4 separate regions of the Homo sapiens genome follow, and all the other regions are linked to region 1. The links are contacts of gene promoters, found by promoter capture Hi-C in blood cells and fetal thymus (Javierre and others, 2016). All regions are on one chromosome and are shown on one strand. The core of a region is centred on a gene start or on the middle of the fragment in contact, and the rest is flanking DNA. Distances in the headings are between cores, read along the strand shown. Region 1 holds the start of CARINH (colitis associated IRF1 antisense regulator of intestinal homeostasis). Region 2 overlaps SEPTIN8 (septin 8). Region 3 has its middle 5.8 kb from the start of SHROOM1. Region 4 overlaps GDF9 (growth differentiation factor 9).

The links. Contacts are between HindIII fragments. The CHiCAGO score rates a contact against its expected background, and 5 or more counts as called.
Region 2: a contact is called between a fragment that was not itself captured here and the fragment with the promoter of CARINH in region 1, in 1 of 17 cell types (fetal thymus). The highest score is 5.0, in fetal thymus.
Region 3: a fragment that was not itself captured here is called in contact with the fragment with the promoter of CARINH in region 1 in 3 of 17 cell types (monocytes, fetal thymus and M0 macrophages); the score reaches 7.1 in monocytes.
Region 4: a fragment that was not itself captured here is called in contact with the fragment with the promoter of CARINH in region 1 in 6 of 17 cell types (naive B cells, fetal thymus, M1 macrophages and 3 more); the score reaches 7.5 in naive B cells.

What each region holds. Positions count from the first base shown.
Region 1 is chr5:132,408,248-132,413,472 of GRCh38, reverse strand. It overlaps CARINH (colitis associated IRF1 antisense regulator of intestinal homeostasis), which reads right to left and starts at 2,544. Exons shown (of 4, transcript NR_161242.1): 1 at 2,432-2,544. RefSeq lists silencers at 2,246-2,535, 2,606-2,905 and an enhancer at 3,146-3,195. The HindIII fragment of the contact is 5,230 bases long and covers 1-4,653 here.
Region 2 is chr5:132,753,403-132,758,424 of GRCh38, reverse strand. All of the region lies in intron 9 of SEPTIN8 (septin 8), which reads left to right. CCNI2 (cyclin I family member 2) reads right to left here. Exons shown (of 6, transcript NM_001039780.4): 6 at 4,022-5,022. Among named protein-coding and RNA genes, the nearest start is that of CCNI2, 8.5 kb to the right of the region's middle. The HindIII fragment of the contact is 2,038 bases long and covers 1,302-3,339 here.
Region 3 is chr5:132,833,717-132,839,232 of GRCh38, reverse strand. No RefSeq gene overlaps it. Among named protein-coding and RNA genes, the nearest start is that of SHROOM1, 5.8 kb to the right of the region's middle. The HindIII fragment of the contact is 3,023 bases long and covers 900-3,922 here.
Region 4 is chr5:132,860,271-132,865,788 of GRCh38, reverse strand. It overlaps GDF9 (growth differentiation factor 9), which reads left to right. Exons shown (of 2, transcript NM_005260.7): 1 at 1-1,652; 2 at 3,233-4,604. The coding sequence starts at 1,256. The coding sequence ends at 4,200. Among named protein-coding and RNA genes, the nearest start is that of GDF9, 3.4 kb to the left of the region's middle. The HindIII fragment of the contact is 609 bases long and covers 2,051-2,659 here.

The sequences.
Region 1 (5,225 bases), core at 1,295-3,794:
TCCTGTCTCACTTTACAAATGTCTATACTGTTTGAATTTATTACAAAAGCATATGACTAAAGAAACATGAAAAAATGGAATAATAAACATAAGGGCAGAATCAGCAAAATAGAGGACATAGAGGACCAAAAAAAAGGTGGTTAACAAAACTTGAAGTATTTATTTGAAAGTAGACAAACCTCTAGTGAGACTGATCAAGAATAACTGACAGAAGATTTTTTAAAAATGAGATTACAGAAAAAGGAAGAAATGACAAATAAAACAGACATTTTAAAACTTATAAAGGAATAATATAAACACATGATAATACATTTGAAAATACAGATGAAATGAATAATTTCTAGACAATAAAAATTGCCAAATTTGGCACAAAAATGTGAATAACCACTTAAGAGACTCAAATAATTTTGAAACCTCTTCCCCATAGAGTTTCAGACCCAGAAGATTTTACAAGTGCCTCCTACTAACTTCCAAGGAGCAGAAAATCTCTATCTTAATGGAGTTGCTTTAGAAAATAGAAAAAAAGAGAAAACATTGCCCAATTTGTTACTTGATTTTGAAATGTTAAATATGGACTGTACAAATAAAGAAAAATACAGGATAGTTTCACTTATAAACATAGATGTTAAACTCCTAAATAAAATATTATCTAATCAAATACGAAAGTGTATTACAAATACATCATGATAAAGTAATTCACCACATTAGTCGATTGTGGAAGAGGTTACTAGTGCTCACCAGTCTCTCGTTCTTTTCCTCCTGGGAACACCACCAGGCTACATTTCCCAGCCACCTTACAATTAGGTGAGACCCATGAGACTAGTCCATGCCAATGGAATGTGAATGGAAGTGCATCTAATTTTCTGGCTCATGAAAACAGCAGCATTTTCTCTATTTTCTTTTTTTCTTTCTTTGTTTTTTTTAGACGGAGTTTAGCTCTTGTTGCCGAGGCTGGAGTGCAGTGGCGCGATCTTGGCTCACTGCAACCTCCGCCTCCCGGGTTCAAGCAATTCTCCTACCTCAGCCTCCCAAGTAGCTGGGATTACAGGCATGTGCCACAATGCCTGGCTAATTTTGTATTTTTAGTAGAGACGGGGTTTCTCCATGTTTGTCAGGCTGGTCTCAAACTCCCGACCTCAGGTAATCAGCCCGCCTCGGCCTCCTGAAGTGCTGGGATTACAGGCGTGAGCCACCGTGCCCGGCAAGAGCAGCATTTTCTAAAAGCAATCAGTACTCAACACCATCCTGCTGAGGTAGGGCAGCGGCGGACTCCATGTTTTGAAACTTAGGAACTTAGACCATCTTTTGTCAAATTCAGATGGTTTTCTCAAAGTAAAGATCATTCAAGTTTTGTTTCAGTAATGGGCCGTATGATCAGATCTGTGTGATTAGGCTGAATTCATTATTATTGAGACAAAAATTGAGTTAAAGGGGATTCTTGGTATTGGCCTGCAAAACCTGTCATAACTTAAATGTAAAGTTTCTGATGATTTAGTCACTTTACTCTCAGCTCTTAGCTCTTTCACTCACCTGTCCTTGTTCTACACAACCTGCCTGATGGGTAACTTGAATACATATTTTCTCTCTTCAGGGGATGGGAACGCCCTAAGGGCAGGGGCTGTTTCCACAGCCCTGGGGTGGAACCCCCTTCCTGCATACCAAGAATGAGTTGGCTATACTTGACGAAGGGCAAAGACAAGGTGGCACGCATCTTTCATGCTTCTGCTGGCAGATGCAGTGGACTGGAAATTTCCTGGTCTGGGAAGGACTCGGTCTGTGAGTGCACCTATCCCTGACATCTATGCTAGCCCCGGGATGGGGGCCCCAGCAGAGTAAGGCCCTGACTTCACATGGACAGGGCCAGGGCAAGGGGGCCACATCCTGGCCTAGTTGCTCTCCATGCCCGTGATCAAGGGAGATGAGCTGCCAGCTTGCTCGGTCAAGGAACACTTGGAAGGCACTCCAAGTGCCCCCAGGTGCACCAGATCTAGGAAACTTAAGCAAACTACATGAGGTATGGGGTGGGGCCCAGTGGGAAAAATGAGTCTGACAGGTCAGAGGGAGTAGATTATGAGCTCAGGTTAGGCATTCTGTTCAGCATTTTACGTACACCCTCCCACTTTTGATTTTTACCAACACCCAGGGAGGTCGGTGCTCTACAAAAGGGAAAGGCGTGCTCAGGTGGCCCGACTTGCCACGGTTCCAGCTCGACCCCGGGCTGCTAGCCCCTTGGCACGCTTGTCTGAGGCCTCCCAGGTCTTCCAGCCTGGCCTGGAGGCTCAAAGCCACGAAACCCAAGGGTGCCGCTTCTCAGGCCCTCCCCGCCCCCACGGCAGAACCCCTGACCCTGCCCGGGTCAAACGCCTGGCGTCGGGCCCGCCGGGTCCGCAAGGAGGAGCCCGCGAGGCGGCCGCGAAGGGGCTGTGCTTACCTCGCCCGGCGCGGGTTGCGGCCCCAGGGCCCGCGCTCCAGGCTGGCGGCCGCTGCATTCTGCGCCCCTCGCCTGAAACGGCAGCTGCGCCAGTCCTGGCCACGACCGCTTTCATTTTCCTCAACGACATCGGCAGGAAAGCGAAAGCGAAACCCTCCGGGAGGCGGGACCGGGGCCGAGCGCGCAGTGAACGCGGGGCGCGCGGCGGGCGCGGGCCGGCAGCCAGAGGCGGGGGCCCCGGGCTCGGGTCTGCGCGTGGCCTGGCCCGGTGGCGTTCGGGGTGGAGCTGGGCCAGCCGAGTGCCCGAGAGCTAGTCCGCCACGCACACCTGCCTCGGCGGGACCCGGGCCCGGGCTGGGCGGGAGGCTGGGCAGGCCCGCCGTAAGTGGAAAGGCGCCCGCGGCGCTTCGGCCGACCGGGACAGGTTCCTCCATCTGCCCTTCATTCAGCGTTTACTTGGGCCTGTGGCTGGCAGCCGGCCCGGGACCTGACCGCTGGCGGCGCCTCGGGCTCTGGCCTGAGGAGGCAGATGGCAGCCTGAGCAACTGGGACCAAGCCTCTGAGGAGTCCCCGTTGGAGGGGACTTGACCATGAGGTACCAGGCATCTCATCTGGGGTCAGCGGAGAACCCAAAAGTCAATGACGTCGGTGAAATGGGGGTCCCTTCATCCGATAAGAGAAACTGGAACAGCAAGCCTATGGTTTGGACTCCCTGGTCTAAGCGGTGCCCATCAATATCTAAACATTTAGAGATTCCAGGTTTCAGTGTCTGGCCGTCTCTTACTGTCAGTGATTTGGGGCAAAATATTCAAGTAGTTAGACTTAATTACTTCCCCTGTGGGATGGGAATAATAATAATCATACCTACTGCCAGAATTTTAGGAATGAACAATAGAAGGAAGAAAATACTTAAAATTTTCTGACAGCCTCTAAGTGGGTTCCTTGAGGGCAGCAACCAAGTCATTTACCTGGATGCTTGATAGACATTCTCTAATGGCCAGTCCATCAACTTGGAGCTATCTCCATGATAACAGGTTAGTTGTCAAAGTTTGGACAATATTATCTGGAGTTTAAAGACTGAGGAAGCCCTGCAATTTTTTTTGGAAGGTGTCTGAAACTTAGCCTGACAATTAGCCCCCACAATTATGCCACGGAACCAGGTTTTTGTTAGAGTGGAGCATGGCCACAACGTTTGATGGACATTCCTACAGCGGTGTTCAGCGCTGGCCACTGAGGTCTGAAAATACTTTTGCAAGCATTTCTATTCACTTGCTTTTAGAAAACATTGGTAAGACACCATACTCCAAACACAGTTTGCCCTGTCTGTACGTTTGTTGCAAAGCAAACATAAAAGTTTTTGCCATAGAGCAAACACAGAGCAGTCTGTTATAACTGGAACAAGAAACCAAAATGAGCTATTAAATCTGCCCAGAGTCACTTTGGTTTACCTGTTTGTAATTTGGGCACATTCCCTGCAAGATGGAGGCCCTGGTCTGTGACTGATGTAGGGGCTTGTATGTGTCCTTGCAATAGTTCCCTCAAGAGCAGGTGGGAAAGTGGGGCAGGCCAAATGATGACCTTAGAAAAACAACAGCCTGTTTCTCTGTCCAGAAGATGCTACTTTTAGTCTGTAGTATGAAGGAAAAAGAAAAAACAAAAAAGGCAAGCCTTGGAGCCTCTTCCTCCTTATAGGACAATTCTTGACTCCAAGATAGCAAAGTAGAGTTAAATCTGCTTCTGCATAAAAACTATGTTTGGGAAGATGAAGATCAGGAAAAGACAGGAAGAGATGTAAGCAGATAAGCCAAATCCTGGTTACCTTTTATAGACATCACACATGTGAACAGAGAGCATCAGGAGGTCAAGGCCGGCCTGATGTTTTTCATCTTGGCAACTTCCCAAGGTCCAGGTTTGGTCCTTGACTTTGTGGGGCCAAAAATCTCATCTGACTTCCAGTGTACCAGAGTCGATTAGCACTGTTGCATAAAGTCAGAATGACAACTGACTGATTTCATTCACTATTTGCTAGAGAAGTGCTATGCTAAATGCATTACATGCATTATTACCTCATTATTTCTCCCTACTATCATGTGGTATATTATAATCTATTTATTTTTCATTTGGGAGAAAAAAAGATGAAGGAAATCCCAAGGTCACATAGTTACTATGTATGTTAGTGGCAGGGTTTGAATCAAGGCCATCTGACCCCAAAACCTGAAGCTTATCCATTCCTGTTAGAAGCAAGACTGTCGGGAACACTGGACTCGAGGCCACCTGATGAACACATTCTCTTCTTGTAGCCATGCAGTTTGGAGCCCCATAGTCAGAAGGTGGCTTAGTGAGCCTAAAATCAGAATCGGAAGAGTGAATTGTCTGACTTAAATGTTTGATGATATCAGGCTCGGGCAATGTGGGATGTCTCTTTCCACAACACAGGTCAAAACCTATAGGAAGTACTGTTCACTCATCCCTGCTGGCCTGGCCAGCCCTTCTCCCTAGATGGGGCCTGGTGGACACCATCTGTTTGTGTCGATGAGGCTCTCTGTATTATGGTACCCAGGCCGCCTCTCCTCAGATGGACATTTTTAGATAGAGCAAGGCGTTACTGAGTAACATTACTCAGTAAGGTCTCTCAGCCCTTATTTTTCTTTATGGAGACATTTTGTATCTTTGCTCTGATTGGCTTGATTTATAATTTAACTTCTAAAGGACAGCTTTCTATCCCACCTTTTGGAGACAGCTCTGTTTTCCTTACTATCCTTCCTGATCTAACCCTGGAACAAAAGTTTGTGCA
Region 2 (5,022 bases), core at 1,071-3,570, 350 kb before region 1:
CTAGGTGCAGCTGCGTGGTCTGGTATACATGCTGCAAAATTCACCCAGTTCCCCTCATTTTAATTTTTCTAACCTACAGCTTAATTTTAATAACTTTAAAACACTTCTAAATATTTATTTTGGCACCAGCGTCAAGACAAATAATATCCTCTCCCATTATTTTCATAAGTAACACAGATTCCCTGATTTTTAAAAACTAAAAATACAGCTAAACCTTTCTTATGTATAAAGTATGCCTATCATATACAGGGAGAGGTGGGTAATAAACTTCCTGTAATGACAGTGTTTGGCATTTCTTTATGGATGGAATTGGAACATGAACAAGACCATGTCCAGCGTTTTTACTGTGAATGTAAATGGAACAGCAGCCCAAAGCTGTTGTCTGTGCCCCAGAGGTGCTACCTGTAGACAGGGACCAACTCCATGTGTGTGTGTTAAGTGTTTGACTCCAATTAAGACTCCCAAGCAAATCCTGCATATTCCAAATGTAAAGAGTACTCAGTGGGAAAAAGGTTGTTACCTCAAAGTCATTGCTTCTTTCCTGGCTGGGTCACAGGGTGAAGAGATGAAGGTGTCTGATGTATATAGACAATTAGGGAAAAATGAGCGGCAAAGGAGCTTTCCCCTTCAGCTGCACTCTAAAGGGGAACATTTTAAGGAAGTACTAGCAGCTTTGACTCTTCTATGCTCCTGTTGGTTTACAAGCCACCAAGAATGTCAGTGTTGAGAATACGGCCTGGTAAAATGGGAGATGTAAAATGACTAAATGAAAGGAAGGGTAGTTTTAATGTTGAAGCACCGTGCTGGGCACTGGAGCTACCCAGAGGAATGCACAACGCTCCCCTCAAGGAGCTCACAGTCTAGCCTACTCCCTGGCTGGAAGCCTCAGGAAGACGTGCTAATTTATTGTGGAATTGGTAGTTTGCTTTTCATGCCCCTGTCTTCCTTCTCATGACCATTTCCCCCTTTCTGTCTGGCTTGCATTATTGATTTCCAGGACCAAGTCCTGGCTTCCTCCTGCCTTCCTGAGATGATGTTCTGCTCAGGGAGAAGTGGAGGGGTGAGCTGTGTGTGTCCACCGAGGCACGGCCAGGAAGAGGCAGCCTTTACCTGTGAGGGGCTCCATGCTCCAGCAGCAGAGCAGGTTCTAGTGACAATTCAACTTTTTATGCTATGACCAGGGGTGGATCTAAATTTTATGGGGCTGAAAGCTTGAATTATTTAGAAAGACTTCTTTAAGAAAAACAATGTTAATATAAAATTAGGTACAGGGTCTTGGAAGGGGCCCTGAAGATTAAGCTTCCTTAGCGTCACAATAAGTCCGTATCTGGTTGCAATTGAAAACTGATGCTTCAGTGAGGGTATCTAAAAAGGTAAACTGGCATATCCAGGGCAAATGTGGGCTGCCAATGGCTCATCTCTAGGGTAATTTTATGTCTGAAAGTGTATGCAGTTGGGTCAGAGCATGACCTTTAAGATAGCCTCTCTCAGCTAACATATTTATGAAGATGAGGCCTGGTGACCCAGCAGGTTCATTGGATACATAAGAAATGAGAATTCCTGGTTCATGGGCCAACCTAGGACTCTGGAGTATGCAGACTTGGCCATTCGTCCATTGTGGCCTGCGGGTCGCACCCCAGGCATACTGAAAGGCCATACTCGTGGCTGGCTGCCTGCGGGCCTAAGCCTTCCCAGGATCTTCAGGACACTTGACAGACTTGTGTTTTCTGGTCTGAGCTGCCTCCACAGGTCCCTCCAGCAAGCCTCACTGCACCTCTCCCCTGCTGTTTGTGTTTGGAATTTTGTCTTCTTTAGCTGAGACCAAATTAAACCTTGGTGCATAAAGTGAGCTTAAAACTTGCCACTGTTTAGTAAGTTAGCCCCCATAGAATGTGACCCTGTCTGCAGAGTCTCATTTACCCCTCTTTTTCTCATTGTCATTTGTTGGCTTTATTAGGGCTGTCTTACAGGATCATGTTGGCATTTACTATCATGTCTTTATCATAAACCATGTTTGTTTGAGGTAGAAGAATCACCATATAATTCGTTGCCCAAATTGGGACTATTGAGAGAGAAAGGGGATGCTATTAATTACACCAGATCAAAAGGCATAAACCAGACCTGTCCCAGGCCGATGTGGAAATATGTTCTTTCTAGTTGTGGGTACCCTGATCTAGGTGGTTTGTAATTGTGCATTACTGACTGCATATGTTTGTGTATGTGTAAATGTGGGCTCCCTGTTAAGTGGGGCTCATGGATACGAGGCCTGAGGAAGTGTGGCTTGCTAGTCTGTTACGTTAACATGCTTTTCTAAAATTGCTTCACGTGTTAATTCATTTACTCCTGCATTCATTGACTGTTTTTGTTCTTTTCCATTCACTTTGTACTTATTTTTTTCATTAAATTTTGCATTTATTTTGAGTTTTTGTGGTGTCTTTTTTGGGCAGTAGCTTTTCTGATTTAACGTTTCCTGAGCCCATTAATCTGCTACAACTGTGGTAAAATACAGCTTGTCTGTTCTTTGAATTTTGTGGAGGTTGATCTACTTCTGTAGGAATTGTTTTAATAGGAAACCCTGCTACAGACATCTGTGAAAGGCTCTTGCATAGGTGGGGGATGGAGGGAAGAGTCACAGGAAAGTTACAGGAAGGTAAAGGGGCAGCCTGTGGTCCATGAATCTTTATTGGTTAACTGGGTGCAGGACATGAGAAAAGGGGCACCTGCCCTTGAGGAGTGTTCCTCCTTAACACAAAGGCTTGCCACGGGACTACTAATATTCGAGTGCCAGGACTGCTCGGAACCATATTACATGCATTAACTCCTCTAATCCTCATCCTAATCCTATGATTAGGGACCATTCATCCCCATTTTATAGCTGAAGCACAGAGGTTTAAGTAATTACCCAAGGTTACATGGCAAGTAACTGGAGAAGTTGAGATTTGAACGCTGGTAGTCTGTACCCTTAAATCCTGAGCTACACCTGCTCCTTGGCATCTCAATGGAATGATGGAAGAGTAGTGAAAGTGTGGCTAGTGTTAAAGTACACAGCCTGATGGTGTGGGCTGGTGGACCTGAGACTGTTTTTTAGAGGTAGAAAGCCCTAGGGGACAGGCAAAAGTGGCTGAGGAAGAGCAGACTGGTGAAAAGAAGTGATAAAAAGTATGTGGGTTTGTTTTTTAAGGAGCTTTCTCCATTGAGCACTAGGTAGGTTTGGGAAGACCAAAATGAGAAAATGGGGACCCCTGCAGGGAGAGTGGTATGAACACATCCCTAATGCAGGCATAGCTCAGCTCTACTTGTGCAGGCAGCAGGGAGGCAAAGTAAAGTATTCACCAAGCTTTGAAGGACAGAGACTCTCCAGGAAGCCAGGGGGAGGAGGGCCTCCTAGGTGGTGGAAACATCATCAAATGACTTGGCTCATTCATTTCAGGGAAGTACTGTTTGGACAAGTTTAAGACAGGTCTATGATGCTCCCCCTGCCCTGTTCCTCCCTGAGCCCACCTACCTTTCTTTCTGCCATAGCATCTGCCTCTGAGCTTTTTCCATCTCCATTTTCTTCAGCCTCATTCCTTCACCAATCCCTGCCTTTCAATAGCTGGGGTCAAAAGGAAAATAGATTGTATCCATATTTCTCCCTGAGAAATGTTTCCCAATCTCTGAGTTGAGGTGGGATAGGAGTTCCTAATGTCAGAAAAGAATATTAGAGGGAAGTAGGATGGGACCTGGGGCCCCACGGCAAGCTTGAAAAGCACATAAGATTTTTAAAAATCCACGAGTGGGACTTCGGCAATACAAAAGTGAGCTTCCCTATAGAAGAGTTCTATCATTTATAGAAAGCCAGAGCAGAAGGTTGTCTCTTACCCCAGTCCTAGGACTCACATGTCTACCCTCTGCTTTCTCCAAGAGGTTTGAGTTGGATCAGCTCTCAGAATCCAGCTCACATCCATAGCCACCTGGTTAAGCAGCAGATGTCTTCCAGCAGTTCCCCTAAAGCCTGGGATGCCTAAACTGGTATGGGCCCTCAGGATGTCCTTCTGCCTCATGCACTGTGGTCCCACTTACACTGGAAGGAAGGAGGCAGAGGGCACTCAACGGCCACCACTGGAAGCTGTGAGCAGCATGGCCTCAGCATCTCCATCTGTAAAATGGGTTCTGGACTAGAGGAGAGTTCTTGATATGACCTAGGAGATAGTGTTCCAAATGTATCTGACTCTCGCAAGGCTAAATGCATGGTAGCTCAAAATAAGACTCATACAGGATCGGAAGCAATTAAAGTGTAATTTTAACGAAAGCACCAACAAGCAAAAGTGTGTCAAGAAAAAATACAGATGTATACTAACTCTATAATATAGACAATTATAGTATATCTGGCCCTTGACCACTTTGCACCTAGTAAATCTTTCCCCTCCCACCCCATGGCTTAGCACATTTACACAAACACACCAAAAAAAAAAAAAAAAAAAAAAAACCATAGTTCACAGTGGAAGACTTCACAAACCACCTCTGAATGTGTGGCTCAGTCATTCATGCCCCCAACACAACTTACACAGCCCCAGCTGGCATCTTTGTCAGCTGCACTCCCCTGCTTAGAGAATGGCTCTGTGGTAGCACAGCATGAGAGAGGCAGCCGGCTCCTCCTCCTGGCAGCACTGTGGTTGGAGCAGGCTTGGCCTCAGAACCTGCTCATCCCAACAGAAAGCATTCAGAGCTGTGCCTCCCATCACAGGTGTTAGCCTATAATACCCATTCATTAGCACAAAATCCCTCTAGTTAAACTAATAACTGAAACCACTTTGCTTAAGAGTAACAAAGGAAAGATATGCCTAAAGCTTGCTCAAGTTACATTAAACAAAGCATACTTTATAATCCAGTCCTTGTAAAGGGAAGACATAAGTCATAGCCATGGTTGGGTAAATGCATCTGCAGAGACTGTCCCATGTGAGGAGTGGCAGGCAGGGTAGTTGGGACTGGAAGCACCACATATGTGTTTGGGATAAGCCTGGGAAGTTGGAAGGACCTGGC
Region 3 (5,516 bases), core at 1,162-3,661, 430 kb before region 1:
TCTTTCCTACTTCACTGATTTTCTATCTCTGGGATACACCAAATTGAAGAACACCTTTCTCTCCCTGTTTCATTTTGAGAAATCAAGGGTGGGCAATGAGCCTGTCTATAAATCTGTCTCTGCCACTCCTAGGCAGTTGCTGTCAGTTGCCCTTTGCCCCATAATTCATTTGGTGTCATCCAGTTAAGAGACACATTCCCCTTTCATCTTGCTAGGTGATTTGCTAGGAAAGTCAAAAGTAACTTGCTATGTTGTTTTTTGTTTTGTCTTTTACTTTTCTTGCTGCTTCCCTTGAAGTAGAAAAAGCTGCTAACTAGGACCTAAGGACCCTGCCAGGGGTAAATGTGACCACAAACACAGTGCCCAGACTGTGATGAATGCTGGGCATACCCCCGGGTTTTAGAACAAAGTGTCCTCTATGTGAGTAACTGACGAGATACACCACAGTTAAAATCAGGAAAGTTTTCTAGGTGAATGTTTAGGGCATGCATTCTCAGTCTCCTGAGCCACCAGCCAAAATTCATCCACATGCACATAGCATGCTGTGACCTAATTCTGTACCAAGTCCATCACGCAGCTTCTGTGTGCAGCCTGGGGTCCAGAGCTCACAAATTGGATTTTTCTTCCATTGAATATTCTGGGTGACTCCTCAGCAAGCAGAAATCTGGGAGGTTTAGCTCAAACAGAATGACAGTTTTAGGAGAGGGGCTTTTTAGAGACTATCTCATCCCATTTTATGATCTGGACACAAGAGAGACAGTCTGGCCATTCCTGGGCCTGAGGAGGCTGTTGCCTTCTCTAAGCAATGCTTTTGGGGCCGAGTTCAGAGCCTGAGATAGTTTCTTTTCTTGAAAACCAAAATGAACCTTAGGGGACCAGAAGAGCAAAGTGGAAAAGCTTATTTGCCCACACCTATCTGTCCGGGGCCCACTGAAGTTGGCAGAGAAGAAGAAGCCTGTATCCATCTTTTTCATGAATCCTCTTTTGTCCAAGGATGTGTGAGTAACATCTGAATGAAGACCACAAGGATGGAATGGTTTCAGGCCTGGGGCTGGGGGCCAGGCTGGAGTAGAAAAGTTAAGTCATTCTGACCAAAGCAAACAGAGGCTGGGTGTCACCCAATGTCTGCAGGGAAAAGGTGACATATGTGTACTTAATGGGGATGTGACAGCCCAGCACTCCTTTCCAGGAAGTGCTGATCTGAAAGGGAATCTGGTTCAATCTCTGGAACAGTCAGCCCTCACCCAGCCTCACCAAGAGGCCCTGCCTGTCAGGTGTCCCCACCGGCGAAGGCAATCTTCATTCTCCCTGCACTTCCTTCTTGTGCACTTTCTACTTTCCTATAAAGCCCTATCTTTAGACAACTGTGGTGAATTCAGTGCATAATCGGAAAGCAAACAAACTTACCCCAGAAGAACATTTACAGTTTAGGTAGACATTTGTGTATAAGCAATAATTCACGCTTTGTTGAATTTCTAAAAATAAACAACATGATTTTGTTGAAAGGTTTCTGACCTCTAATATACTTTAACCAGTACATTACCATCTCTGAATTATTGAGACAGCTATGTAGCCCAGCTATGTAGCTGCTGCCTAAAAGAAAGATATCTGGGCTGGGTGTGGGGGCTCACACCTGTAATCCTAGCACTTTGGGAGGCCGAGGCCGGCGGATCACGAGGTCAGGAGATTTGAGACCGTCCTGGCTAACATGGTGAAACCCCATCTCTACTAAAAATACAAAAAATAAGCCGGGCGTGGTGGCAGGCGCCTGTAGTCCCAGGAGAATGGCGTGGACCCGGGAGGCGGAGCTTGCAGTGAGCCAAGATTGCGCCACTGCACTCCAGCCTGGGCGACAGAGCAAGACTCCATCTCAAAAAAAAAAAAAACAAAACCACATCTGTTGCTTCACCTATGAACTACAGATCCACTGTTAAACCACACACAAAATCAAAGGACACAAACTTGGAAAAATATTTGCCACACATAGGAAAAAGTGTTAATCACCTTAATATATAAAGAGGTTTTTTTTTGTTTTGTTTTTTTGAGACAGGGTCTCACTCTGTCACTCAGGATGGAATGCAGTGGCACAATCATGTCTAACTGCAGCCTCAACCTCCTGGGCTCAGGTGATCCTCCCGCCTCAGCTCCCTGGAGTAGCTGGAACTACATGCATGTGCTACCATGGCCAACTAATGTTTGAATCTTTTGTAGAGACAGGCTGGTCTCCAACTCCTGGGCTCAAGCAATCTGCCCACCTCAGCCTCCCAAAATGCTACTAGGATTATAGGCATGAGCCACTGTGCCCAGCCCTAAAGAGGTCTTACAAATCAATGAGACCAATAATCTAATAGAAAAATGAGCAAAGAAAATTGACAGATCCCAGATCACATACAAATGGCTTTAAAATACACAAAATGGTGTGTAGTCTAATTTATAATATATGCAATATAAATTAAGACAGATATTATTTTTACCTTTCAGATTTCAGAGATCCAAAAGTTTGATAATGCACTAGGCATGGTGGCATGTGCCTGCAGGGGCAGGCTGCTTGCAGGGGACAGGCCCAGGAGCTGTTGGCCACAGCACTCATTCTGCAGAAGGGAAACTTGAGGCCCCAGAGGGCAGGGGTTGGTCCCACAGAGACTGGTGGGCAAAGGGGATCACCCCAAGTCTCAATGGCACTGGGAACACTTACACACTCTGACCTGGACTAAGGCTGCCAGGATGGTCCATGGCACTTTAAAAGCTAAAAAGGCCAAGCACAGTGGTGTGCACCTGTAGTCCCAGCTACTGGGGAGGCGGAGGCAGGAGGATTACTTGAGCCTGGGAGTTCAAATCCAGCCTGGGCAACACAGCAAGACCCCGTCTAAAAAAAGGTTGATAATGCACTGTGTTAGTGAGTGTATTAATGCAATCCCACACTGCTGTAAATAAATACCTGAGACTAGGTAATTAACAAAGAAAAGAGGTTTAATTGGCTCACGGTTCTGCAGGCTGTACAGGAAATGCAGATTCTCACTTCTGAGGAGGCCTCAGGAAACTTACAATCATGGTGGAAGGCAAAGGGGAAGCAGGTACCCTTTACATGGCCAGAGCAGAAGCAAGAGAGGGGGAGGGGTGGGTGCCACATACTTTTAAATGACCAGATCTCATGAGAACTCACTCACTATCATGACCAACAGGGATAGTGCTAAACCATTCATGATGAAACTGCCCCCATGATCCAATTGCCTCCCACTAGGACCCACCTCCAATATTGAGGATTACAACTGAACATGAGATTTGGGTGGGGACACAGATCTAAACCATCTCAGTGTGCTTGTATACATTTTTTATGGGACTGTAAATTGGTATAGCCTCTTTGTAAGTGTGATTTGACAATATCAATCAAAATAGAAAATTCATGTACCCTGTTACAGTTGTCTATTACCATGTAACAAACTACCCCCAAACTTAGTAGTTTGCACTTTTATAATTATTGTGCTCATGTTTTTGAGGGTCAGAAATTCAGGAAGAGCTAGGCTGCGGAATTCTTCTCTGATCAGTATGGTGTCAGCGGGGGTGGCTGACACTGCAGGATTCGCTTCCAAGATGGCCTGGTTACTTGCCTGTGCAATGCCTAAGTGCTCCTTGGCCTCTCTTTTCCCTCTCCACATGCTATCTCATACTCCTGGGCTTCTCCATATAGCTTGTATTTCTCATAGCTTAGTGGTCTCAGAGTAGTAGCACTACCAAGAGGCAAGAAGTGGAAGCTACCAGGCCAGTTAAAGGCTATGTCCAGAACTAGCCCAACATACCTTCTGCTACATTCTGTTGGTCAAAACAGTTACTGTCACCCCTAAGCTCATTATCCAAGGGGATGGAGAAATAGACCTCACCTCTTCTGGGTAGAGTAGTGGCAAAGTCACATTGTAGAAAAGCTTGGGAGGTGGAAAATTTTTTCATGATTGTCTTTGTAAAGTACAATCTACTACCTACACTTTAACCCACCAATTCATCTTTTAGAAATTTATCCTGTAAGTGGACTTACAAATGTGAACAAAAATAAATGAACAAGGGTATTTGTTACTAAAATAGTAATAGCAAAAGACTGGATTAATCTAAATGTCCAATAATAGGGTTATTTAACCCAATTTATTTGTGCCCATGCAATGCATAGCTATGTGCCTGTCTTAAAAAACAAACAAACAAACAAGAAAACCTATGTACTTACTTTGAATAAACTCTAAGATATACTTTCAAATGAAAAAAATAAAGGTGAAGGCTGGGCACGGCGGCTCATGCCTGTAATCCCAGCACTTTGGGAGGCCGAGGTAGGTGGATCACCTGAGGTCGGGGGTTCAGACCAGCCTGGGCAACACGGTGAAACCCCATCTCTACTAAAAATACAAAAATTAGCCAGATGTGGTGGCACACCCCTGTAATTCCAGCTACTTGGAAGGCTGAGACGTGAGACTCACTTGATCCCAGGAGGCGGAAGTTGCAGTGAGCTGAGATCACCCCACTGCACTCCAGCCTGGGTGACAGAGTGAGACTCTTACTCAAAAAAAAAAAAAATTTTGTTTTGGTAGAGACTGGGTCTCACTGCATTGCTCAGTCTGGTCTCGAATTCCTGGCCTCAAGTGATCTTCCCACCTCAGCTTCCCAAAGTGCTTGGATTACAGGTGTGAGCCACTACACCTAGCTCCATCTCTATTGAAAAAAAAAAAAGTACTTACAGAAAGAAATGTTTTTATAAGTCCTTTACAATAAACCCCTGGAAATCATATATGAAACTAAGCCCTCATATGTGTTGGACTGTTGGGGACACACAGAGATGGGGAAGTCCTGTTTGGAGTCTCACTGCTGCTACTGTCTCATCTTTCCCGCTCGCTTGCGAGTTCTGCTCAATCTGAAGTCCAAATCCTGCTCTCCTAGGAAGGCTGCATTGATATCCACAACATACAGTTCTTTACACTGCTCATGTTTACATGACAGCATGGCCTTTGGAACCAGACATTAGGGGGTTAAGTATTGCCTCTACTGCTTATTAGCTACCTGACCTTGACAAAATAATGTCTCTAAGTCCCAGCTTTCTCACTTGTAAAATGGGGTTATACTGATACCTACTTCTGAGGAGTAAGAGGGCTAAAAAGATACATAGAGCACTTAGCACAGTGCTTGGCACTAAAGAAGTGGTCTTTAGTATTCCACTCATAGTCACATCACATTAACCATATCCAACAAAGAGAGTGGGCATCAAAGCAAGAAACCACAGGGACTTGTGAGGTGGGCAGTTGCTTTGCTTTGGTGTCATCAGTTCAGATTACAAGTGCCAAACTATGTGGAGTGGAGGCCCACCACCTCCCCACCTATCAGCTCCTTGATATAGGGCCTGGCCAGGAACAGCAAGGTCTGTGGCTCTAATCCCAGCTAAACACAGCCATCTAAGGGTCTCTTCAAAAGAACTCCCCCAGGCCTGAGAAAGTATTGAGATACTGAAGGGTGCAGACACCTCTCTTTATGTATTGGAAGCA
Region 4 (5,518 bases), core at 1,106-3,605, 450 kb before region 1:
CTGAGGTGTCTTGTCAGTGTTTTGTTAATGGAATTGCTGGCCATATTTTATCTAGGACTAAGCTCTCATTCAACAGTTGGCTGTGTTTTATAACACTACTTACGGACCACGGAGGCTCGGCAGGCAGTCAACTTGTATTTTGCAGACATACCTTAGTTTTCTCATGTAGGTACTGCACAAACTGGCTTCGTATCTTGCACTATGAGTGTAGGCTGACTCTTCCAGCATAGTCTCCTTCGGGGTGGCGCTGAATATCCCCTCATTTCAGCTTTTCATGGTGCTCCTTTGCCTCATTTTTTTAAACCATAATGTCTAGCCTGGTCTCAGCTCCAAGGCAAGAACAGAAATACAGGTAAGGACAGAAATATTGTGGCAAATTCTACCACCATTTGGATGAATAATAATAAAACGTTCATTTATTTTATAGCATCTGCAAACATCCCAAAACCTTTCAACCAAAATATGTATAGATGAGTGTGCAGACCAAAGTAAGGACATCAGTATGTTACATTTAAAAATAAGTCAAGGTTAAAGGCGGTGTCCTCTTTTAAGAACATCGCAAATACAATTCCAGTACTCCAAGTACGTATTCTGTACCCAGCCACCTGGGAGGACTGAGAGACCTAATGGTTTTCTGCTTTCTGGAACTTCTATGCCAATTGTGACTTTCTCACCCAAATTTGTAAATTCGCAAATTAACATGCAGCGAATAATTACAATTGTAAACACCTGGAAGTGGAAAAGGCCGTGAGGATAAATTGAGAGGAAGAGTAAACCTAATACCATAAGTTGCATACCAGCAGATCTGAGTATCGTCATGAATAATTGGTTAGCTTTTCCACATGCCTTAGAAGTTTCAGCAAGCACCTAGCGAACATCTTAATCCAAATTTCTCAAAAAATGAGAGATTTTATTTAAGATCATTCCTCAATTTATCTTAGACTTTCAGCTACATAGTTAGTCCGGTAGTGTAACAGTAACGGGTTTTACGTAAATGCCAGGGGAAAAGAGAGGAAAGCTAAATAACCAAGTAAATCTGTATCTAATTAACAAATTGGCTAAATAAGGTGTTATCAGCTGCTTGATATAGAGCTGATAAAATCTTCAGCTAGGCATACTTGAGGCCTGATTACAGAAGTGACCGTAGTCCACCCACACACCTGAAATTTATTTAAGAGACCAAGCTAGGCTCTTCCTGGCCTTTAGGAAGAGGACTGGCATGGAGAAATATGTTCCTCACTAGTTCTCCCAAGCCATGGCACGTCCCAACAAATTCCTCCTTTGGTTTTGCTGCTTTGCCTGGCTGTGTTTTCCTATTAGCCTTGGTTCTCAGGCTTCTGGGGGAGAAGCTCAGATTGCTGCTAGTGCTGAGTTGGAATCTGGGGCTATGCCTTGGTCCTTGCTGCAGCATATAGATGAGAGAGACAGAGCTGGCCTCCTTCCCGCGCTTTTCAAAGTTCTATCTGTTGGGCGAGGTGGGTCACCTAGGCTGCAGCCAGACTCCAGAGCTTTGCACTACATGAAGAAGCTCTATAAGACATATGCTACCAAGGAAGGGATTCCTAAATCCAATAGAAGTCACCTCTACAACACTGTTCGGCTCTTCACCCCCTGTACCCGGCACAAGCAGGCTCCTGGAGACCAGGTAACAGGTATGTGAAAGCAGATTGGTTAACTGGGTGGAGGGAAGATGATAGACACTTCTGCATTTCAATTACAGAAAGGAGCTGAGCCTAGTTCCTTGAATTGTATTTTATTTTGCATAAAACTCAATATCCAGTTGAAACAAATCTGGGACTTGAGCTTATTGTTTATTCCTAACGCTCTCATTGGTTAAGGTGGGCTAATATGATGGAATTTTAAAGCAACACCAGAGACTTAATGGCTTTCAAGGCTGAGCGGAAGTGCTGCTAGAGAATGTTAGCACCTCTTTCTGTTCCACCAAGCTTTTGGCCCAGAAATGGACCTTAAACATCTCTTACAGCTATTGGTGTGATGTGTTAAATAGGATATTTTTCTCTTGTTTGTTACTTTCTGTGAGAGAAAAGCTTAAAGTTCCCGTTTTGAACAGTTGGCCCTTACAAGAACAAAGTATCAGTCCACAGTTTGACTCAGCAGTTGGGTGTGGTGCTTTAAAAAATTATAACATGGTGAAACCCCGTCTCTACTAAAAATACAAAAATTAGCTGGGTGTGGTGGTGCATACCTGTAGTCCCAGCTACTCGGGAGGCTGAGGCAGGAGAATCGCTTGAACCCAGGAGGCAGAGGTTGCAGTGAGCCAAGATCGCACCACTGCTCTCCAGCCCGGCAACAGAGCGAGACTCTGTCTCAAAAAAAAAAAAAAAAGTATATATCTACCAGCTCTTGATTTAAAACCATTCTAACCCAACAGGGCAGTTGTATCTGCTTCCTTAATATCCTATTTTAATATAGTGGTTTTAGAGCATCTGTTTTTAATCTCAAGTGTTCTAAATTAACTAGGACCAATTACATTGTTTTAAATTGACTTTCTTCACTAGGGCTTAGAATGTCATCTTAGTAAGTCTGATAAGTGTTTCTATTATGGTTTTCCCTCTAGAGATTATCCAAGAGAAAAATACTACTTTCCTTATCAGCTCAGCTGCTTCTGTGTTTGGAGCAAATTACTCAGAATGAAGCTTCAGGCTGAGCACAGTGGCTCATGCCTGTGATCCCAGCACTTTGGGAGGTTGAGGTGAGAGGATCGCCTGAGCCCAGAAGTTCAAGACCAGTCTGGGCAACATGGCGAGACCTTGTCTCTACAAAAACAAAAAATCAGCTGGGCATGGTAGCTCATGCCTGTAGTCCCAGCTACTTGGGAGGCTAAGGTGGGAGGATCAGTTGCACCTGGGAGGTTGAGGCTGCAGTGAGCCATGATGGTGCCACTGCACTCCAGCCTGGGTAACAGTGAGACCCTGTCTCAAAAAAATAAAAAATAAAAATGAAACTTCAGAATGTAGTGATTCCCTGTTACTTTGATTCACCACCAAATCTGACTTTCTGGAGATAAAATGTCCAGTAAGGTTGCTGGGAATTAGTAATGATACCAATTGCCTTCCTTTTCTATATTAACCCCCATTTTTTTTTTTGAGGCTTGAGAAAGTGGGGAAAAGAGAAGGGAGAAAGCATATTATGAAGTACTAATTCTTTGACTTGACTGCCTGTTGTGTTGACTGATTTTCAAGCACTACTGGTAGATTTTTTTTCTTCTTAGGAATCCTTCCATCAGTGGAACTGCTATTTAACCTGGATCGCATTACTACCGTTGAACACTTACTCAAGTCAGTCTTGCTGTACAATATCAACAACTCAGTTTCTTTTTCCTCTGCTGTCAAATGTGTGTGCAATCTAATGATAAAGGAGCCAAAGTCTTCTAGCAGGACTCTCGGCAGAGCTCCATACTCATTTACCTTTAACTCACAGTTTGAATTTGGAAAGAAACACAAATGGATTCAGATTGATGTGACCAGCCTCCTTCAACCTTTAGTGGCCTCCAACAAGAGAAGTATTCACATGTCTATAAATTTTACTTGCATGAAAGACCAGCTGGAGCATCCTTCAGCACAGAATGGTTTGTTTAACATGACTCTGGTGTCCCCCTCACTGATCTTATATTTGAATGACACAAGTGCTCAGGCTTATCACAGCTGGTATTCCCTTCACTATAAAAGGAGGCCTTCCCAGGGTCCTGACCAGGAGAGAAGTCTGTCTGCCTATCCTGTGGGAGAAGAGGCTGCTGAGGATGGGAGATCTTCCCATCACCGTCACCGCAGAGGTCAGGAAACTGTCAGTTCTGAATTGAAGAAGCCCTTGGGCCCAGCTTCCTTCAATCTGAGTGAATACTTCAGACAATTTCTTCTTCCCCAAAATGAGTGTGAGCTCCATGACTTTAGACTTAGCTTTAGTCAGCTGAAGTGGGACAACTGGATTGTGGCTCCGCACAGGTACAACCCTCGATACTGTAAAGGGGACTGTCCAAGGGCAGTTGGACATCGGTATGGCTCTCCAGTTCACACCATGGTACAGAACATCATCTATGAGAAGCTGGACTCCTCAGTGCCAAGACCGTCATGTGTACCTGCCAAATACAGCCCCTTGAGTGTTTTGACCATTGAGCCCGATGGCTCAATTGCCTATAAAGAGTACGAAGATATGATAGCTACAAAGTGCACCTGTCGTTAACAAATGGTCCTCTTAAAACCTTGAGCCTATTTGGCAAAGTAACTACTGTGTGCCTATGTGTGCCTTCAAGAGAAAGCTTCATATATTAAGTCTCTAAATGTAGCATATGTTATATAAAGAGGAGCCTGTGTAGGTTAGTACCTTCTATGGCATCTATCAGGATAAAGGGATAACATCAATTGTTGCTACAGAGCCTTTTTTTATTTCCAAATTTAAATGAAATATAATTATTGTGGAGAACTTTACATTTTTTTCCTTGAGTGATTTTTTTTCTTTTCATAGGAGTCTTATTCTTGATAGGGAAAAAACCTTAATTAGCATCAATCCTGGATGGACTTGCAGCTATAAATAGGCAATTCAGATTGCTGTAGTCTTAATAGAAGAATAAATTTCTGTCAATGGCATAAATTTTGTGTGTGTTTTATTAAATATTGCTTTTAAGCTGATCATTTAGTGGGGGAGAGGAAGTGTCTAAAAGCTGGCCATAGCTCGACTTTTGATCCTTTTTCAGAGTGAAAGGGAGGCTAATGTCACCGAAATTCTCATGAAGTTAAGACTCACTAGGACTAGAGAGCAGGCAGTGTAACCCATTTCCGTTGCTTTAGTGTGATTGGTGAACAGTATACTAATTCTCCTTGTTAACTAGCATATATAAATCAATCGAGTCACACAGAACAATATAACATTTGTCCCATTCATGTAAAGGAAATTGCCTTGCATGTTTTTCCAAGAAAACCTACGTACAAGACTTTGTAAGTGTATTTTTTTCTTTATATATTTAAAACCTCTGACCTTATGAAAGGCAGCCAGGGAAGGTTTTTTGTTTTGGTTTGGTTTTTGCTGATTTGCTTAGCTCCCTCCACTCCACCCCCACAGGTTTTTTTCCAGATAGATTTATAACTGTTCCTACTAAGCTTGCAGTAGTGACTGGTTATGTTATTGACTGGGTCTTATGTGGATGCTAGGGTTTTTATGTAGGTTTTCAATATATCTATTTTGAGAGAGCCCTGGAGGCACAGAGGTAGGGTTGATATCGTGATTTTGTGTTTGAGTTTCTAAAACCTTGATGTATAAACCAAAAGTAACTCCTAGATGTAATAAGTACTTTTTATTCTTGTAAATGATCTTTTCTTGGTGCTATTTTTAGCTTCATTAAATATGCACATACCATATAATTTACCCATTTAAAGTGTACAATTCAGTGGTTTATAGTATATTTATAAACATAGAACACCATCACCATCATCAATTTTAGAACATGTTCATCACCTCAAAAAGAAACCCTATATGCTTTAGCTATTACTCCCATTTCCTGTCT